Regions from separate parts of the Homo sapiens genome. Here region 2 is linked to region 1. The links are contacts of gene promoters, found by promoter capture Hi-C in blood cells and fetal thymus (Javierre and others, 2016). All regions are on one chromosome and are shown on one strand. Each heading gives the region's core, a stretch centred on a gene start or on the middle of the fragment in contact. The rest is flanking DNA. Distances are from core to core; before and after follow the strand shown.

Evidence for each region. The method cuts DNA at HindIII sites, captures the fragments that hold promoters and counts their contacts. A CHiCAGO score of 5 or more calls a contact.
Region 2: a contact is called between a fragment that was not itself captured here and the fragment with the promoter of SERTAD4 in region 1, in 1 of 17 cell types (endothelial precursors). The highest score is 5.3, in endothelial precursors.

What each region holds. Positions count from the first base shown.
Region 1 is chr1:210,231,516-210,234,240 of GRCh38, reverse strand. It overlaps SERTAD4 (SERTA domain containing 4), which reads right to left and starts at 1,445. Exons shown (of 4, transcript NM_019605.5): 1 at 1,230-1,445. SERTAD4-AS1 (SERTAD4 antisense RNA 1) reads left to right here and starts at 356. Exons shown (of 2, transcript NR_024337.2): 1 at 356-606; 2 at 2,470-2,725. RefSeq lists an enhancer at 1,034-1,567. The HindIII fragment of the contact is 4,360 bases long and covers 1-2,725 here.
Region 2 is chr1:209,840,771-209,843,776 of GRCh38, reverse strand. It overlaps UTP25 (UTP25 small subunit processome component), which reads right to left. Exons shown (of 12, transcript NM_014388.7): 8 at 2,722-2,924; 9 at 1,330-1,512; 10 at 1,082-1,194; 11 at 81-326. Among named protein-coding and RNA genes, the nearest start is that of UTP25, 14 kb to the right of the region's middle. The HindIII fragment of the contact is 1,394 bases long and covers 685-2,078 here.

The sequences.
Region 1 (2,725 bases), core at 196-2,695:
CGGCAGCCACCAACCACATCCTGGCTCCCGCACAGACACACCCCCGGGGTGTCGGTGCCGCAGCCCTCAGCCCCTCCCCGGGTAGCCAGCAGCGCCCGGTCGGCCGCTGGCCGCAGGAGAAAGTAAACAACACCCCAAGTGTCCGGGAACAAAGGCAAGTTGTCTTTCTACGGTGCCGCAGCCGTGTGCCTCTTCTGAAGAATAAGAGCTATTATTATTCTTTATGTCTTATCCTTTTTTTTTTTTAAAAAAAAAACCAAGTTTCCTTCTAAGGGAAATAAACACCAAAGGTAGGATTCCAAGGAAATGACTCACAGCGGCTGGCAGGGCTCTGGCGGGGCTGGCCCGGGCCCCCGCGCTCCAGCCCGCAGCAGATGTCGGCCCGGCCTTCCCTCCCTCCCTTGCCGGCCAAACCCGCTGGAAGCCCGCGGTTGCGGGAGCGCCCTGCGCCCGTGGGACCTGGCGGCGAGGACGCCTATTCCCTGCTTCTGCGACCACAGCTGGGCACTCGGAAAGTTGCTAGGGCCGAAGAGGCGGGAGGGGAGGAAGGGAAGCGAGAGGCGGAGGCGTGGACCAGGCGGGCAGCAGCCTCAGCCCGCCGAGGAGGTGAGCTGAGGACAGAGGAGCCGCCGCCGCCCGCAGCGCAGCTCTGCTGCCTGGGAGGAGGGTGCGGGGGCGGAGGTGGCGGGGGACAGAAGGTGTCAGCTACTGCATCAATTCCTTTTTCTTGCAAACGCGCGCTCCTGACATCCACAATCCCTCTCTCCCCACCTGCCAAGCGCCGCGGCATCCGGACCTGGGGGCACCCCTCCTACTTAACCCCTTCCCCTACGATGAGGGACTAAGCGGCCACGGAGGACCATGAGGTCTCACCAGAGCTTCTGACCCCACCCGCCCCTGGAGTTGTCTCGGTGCGCGCGGGTGGCAGCCCGAGCAGCCCTAGAGGAGGCGGCGGTTCCCGCCCTGGTGAAGGCGCCGCGGCGCACGCTAGCCCAGGGAAAAGCCCGCGCCGCCTCCGCGCCCAGCTGTGCCTTGGCCCCCACGCCGCCCCGACTCCGCTCCGGCCGCTGCGAGTCCACTCGGTGACCTCGGCACAGCCCTGGTGCCAAGAGGGCGCGCGGGAGGCCGCGTGGGTGCCCGTCTGCGAGGGCAGGAGCCCCGGGGGGCCCTCGCCCTCCACCCTGCCCGGCCCTCCCGCCCCCGCGGCCCGCGCCCAGCCCGGCTCTTACCGCGGGGTCAGCGGGGAGGCGGCGGCCGCAGCGCTTGAGCTGCTGCTGGTCCGCTCTGGGCTCGGCGCCAGCCCGGCCGCCGGTGCACACTCGCGGGTCCCGGCCCGGCCGCCCGCTCGGCGGTGACTGCGGGTGCGCGGCGGGCAAGGGTCCCGGCAGGTCCCGCCGCCGCGACTGGGGCGCTGCGCCGCCGTCGCTGCAGACGGTTATGGTAATGAGCGGCTCTGTCTAGCGAGGAGCGTGTGAAACCCGTCAATCCTGTTTGCCATTTCCCCGTGGATTTCCGAGGAGAGGTTCTGCAGGATGCCCCCAGGGTGAGAGAGGGAACATGACAAGCGCGCCCGCTCTCCCTCCCTCCCTCTGCTCAGGCCGCCGCCGCCGCTCCTCAGGCTGCACACGGGGCGCCTTTCCCGCACCCCCACCCCAGCCCGCCCCCTGCCTCCTTCCCTGCTTCCCGCCCTCCCTCCTCCTTTTCCTCCCCTCCCCTCCCGGTGCCCGGGGACACGCGGGCCCAGCTCCAGCCCGCAGCCCAGACCCCACGCGCTCTCGGGCTCCCGCCCTAGCCCTGGGGGCTTGGCTCCAGCCGAATAATGTATTCACTCTGGAACCTTCCGAGATATCTTGTCTTTTTAAATTTGGTTTAGTTTTGTTGTTGTTGTGTGTGCGTGTGATTAAAAAAAAAATCTGTGCCTTTCCCACCCTTTGCAAAAGACTTTCTTCTCCTTTGCCACAGCAAACGGAGATGAGAAACAGATGTCTTTGCAGGACCAAACAGTTATTCTCCCTCGCCGCCCGCCCCCGCCCGTTTCCCTCCTGAGCTGCGTACGTATTAAAAAAAAAAAAAAAAGCAACCTTGGTCCTGCTGCAACTTGAATTGGCAACCCTTTCTGGGTGGGGAGCCTCCAGGGAAAACCTCCAGGAAATAAAAAGTAATACAAGAGATTGTCCTTGCTCAAGAGAATGTAATTTAAGCCTTGGAATCAGAATATTTTGCAAATAGTAATTTTCTCCTATAGTGGCCTCAGAGTTTATTTTTTAAAATCATTAATTCATAACTTCTGTCTAGGGACCCCTCCATAGTCGAGATGGGTCATTTCAGGTGTAATGAAGGCAGAGGCTTGGAAGGCATAGACCTAATAAAATCGGGAGAAGGCACCTGCACAAAAGTGTTACAAAGACTATAATGTTTGTTTACTGCCACTATACCAGATGTGCTAAATATAACACTTCTTTAAAACAGTGATCCTCCGACTGTGAAAAACCAGACCTCTGGCTGCCTGGCTCCCTAGGAATCAAGAAGACGCACAGACTGAAAATCAAGGGAGGAAGGAACAAGATCAAGGATGAGGATTAGCATCTGCAAATTGAACTCTATCTAATTTGCATGTTTATTTCTTAGAATTGTAATTAAATTTGTGTAATAAATGTTTTCCATTTCATTTGTACACTTAAAACTTGGGTGACTGACATGCAGTTAAGTGAATTTCCTTTTTTTA
Region 2 (3,006 bases), core at 132-2,631, 390 kb after region 1:
TGCCATGCATTCAGAGCAGGCCATGATTTGTCCTGCACCTCCCCTTCAGAGAGGAGGCTTGAAACCTGGCACCACTTTACCTTTTGTAGAAATGGAAGCGCTCTGTGAAAAGTAGAAACTGTTTCTCTCCTTGAAGGAAGAAGTGTCTGGCCCTGGAGACACCAGACTTCTGCGTGTACTCGCAGATGTGGGTAAAATTCAATTCCTCCTTCTTGAAGTAATTTCGAAGACGCACGAAGTCAAAGTAGGAGGGGATATAGATGAGCGTGTGAGACATGACTGCATCACGATACTGTGGCAAAATCTTGTTCACAAAAAAGTTAAACCTGATTTGGAATGGCAAAGGGCAAAATTAATGTCTAGAGCTAAGCTTATGGTGTCTCTTAACTGTGTGACCCTGAGCAAATTACAATCTCGTGTTAAAAGATTACCTCCCCAGAGGCCAATATGATTTACCTCCTCTCAAAGAGATTATGTAAGGATAAAACTTGATAAGCACACTAAAAAAATAAGTGTCAACACTATTCATTGTAAAAAACAGATGTAATACCATTATATCCCAGAGAATTACTCTAGGAAGTACACACCACACTATTCAGTCAGTCAGTCAGTCACTCAGTCACTCAGTCCAACAGTCAACAAATAATCACTGAACATCTACCATATACTAAGCCTCACTAAGCTTCTTTGGGGTCCCCTAACTAAACACAATGAAGAAAAAGGGGGAAATTATACAATTAGAAAAATAGTTCTTTCCCTGAGGGGCTTACAATTAACTTGCTGACATGAGACACTTTGTAGCATAAAGCTGTATAATTTTAAAATGCCACAGTCAAGAGTGAAAGAGTCCTGATTTATAGTAATAACCCTGCTACTAACTAGTTATGAGACCTAGGCCAAAGTCACTATTTCTCTCTGTGCTTCAGTTTCCTCCTCTGACAAATGACATAATTAAGTTCAATTATCTCAACTGATTTGGTAGTTATCAATAAAAGCAAAATGGAATCCAATTCTAGGTTTGTATGCCCAAGTCAAATCTCTCTATGTGGTCCCCAGGGGCCTGCTGGGAGGAGTGGGTTACCTGGCATCAATCACTGAAGCTAGGTTTTCAGCTTCCATCCTCTGGAAGACATGTGGGAGCTGCACCAGGACATGACTGATAGAGCCTGTCATTGGGACATTCCTCACGGCCACCTGCCAGTAGTCAACAAGAGCGTTAGGTGGACAGCCATCCCCTTCTTGACCAGAAGCTATCGCCTCCTTCTACCTCAGGACCCAAACAATAAACAGTGCTCATGAAGATACTGAGGAAACAAGACGAGAACCCACCTGGCCTTGCATGTTGACACAGTACTTGTTGAACACTGAGTTGATCTGGGCATCCTGAAGGGCCCCAAATAGCAGTGTCTGGCGATAGTACTTGGACCAATTATTGAGGCTCCACATCCGCACTCGAGAAAAGTCTACCCCATGTGAGTCCAGGGGTAGTAGGTTCATGTGATTCATCAAATGCTTTGAGTGGAAATAATATTACCATTAGTGTTGACTGAGAGCATTTACATGTTGGACATTGCTAAACATTTTCCGAGTCTATCAACTCATGTACTATCATCTCCTAAATTATAACAAGAAAACTGAGGCTCACATGGGTGAGTGACTTGCCCATGGTCAGCCAAACATCCCCAATGAGGAGATAAGCTAAAACTGGCCCTCCTGGAATTTTAACAAATGATCAAAATGGTACCTACAGGAATGTTCCTTTAAAATGAACTTCTGAAATGCCACACTGGTCTCTCTATGGGTCCCTAAGTCCCAGACTTGGACAAGAAGGGAAATGCCATGGAAAACAGAGCTGCTGTCCCTCAATTACCTGGTTCTCAAAACATTAGGAATAGTTGCAGTGTCACCCTGTCTTTTCCTCAAATCTAAGAATATAACTCGACTATGCCAAATGCCTTTTCCATTTTAATTATATTTTTACCTTGTAATAGATATTGAAGGGTAATGAGTACAATAAATTTATTTCCTACTTTAGAAGTAAGTTCTACCCTTCATTTGTCCCAAACTTCCTGCAAGCTTCAAGACATGGGGTTGTAGAAGGGGTGAGTTCCCATATGCCTTAGAAAAATAAACCTATAGTTCCTAAATAAGGATTGTTCCAAAGCAGTTTTTCAGTCCTAAAACTGATAACACTGCAGAGTGTGTGGAGAAGGAGAAAAAAATTACAGTACAAATTACATCGGGTAATAAAGACATCCTATATTTCTCTACAAAACAAGATCCCACCTTAAAAAATCTTGAGCAGGGTATTCCCATCTTCACCAAAGACCAAACAAAACAGCATAAGCAAAAACCACATGTGGGATTATGTTAGGTAAAGATGTTCCTGGTGAGGACCCATCCATCCATCAACCTATCCCATCCACCCATCCACCCACCCTAAAGTTAGTAGAAAGAAATTTTAAGGGAAAGAAATCTTTTCTGGAGATTTGAAAATGACTGACAGGAATTTTAATCTGTAGACAGTTTAATTATGGACAATCTCTGGGTAGAAAAGGGGACAAAAGACTTTTTCAAATTAGAAAATGTGGAGTGTGTGTCCTTGCTTCCAAACAAGAGTTCTAATCTGGACTTAAATAATTCTTTAGGACTTAAACCACTGGGTGTCTTATCCCTCTAAATATGAATACTGTCCCACTGAATGTGAATGGCCAGCATTACCAGGACATGCTCCCAGTTCTGCATCAGGTAAATGTCAGCTTGATCAATGATGAGAAGCTCGATAGAAGACAGAAAGTCAAAATCTCTCTTCTTCTCTCCTTCTCCACCAATGATGGTCCTCAAGCCCAGGGGGGAAGCAATGAGGATATCCGAGGAGTAAAACGGGGCATAGAGTCGGATGCTTCTCTGAAGTATTGCCACTCCTACACAAAACAGCCAAGTACACACCAATTCATTAGTCACTACCAAGCCATTACCTTCCACCCTCTCAAAGCAGTCCACCAC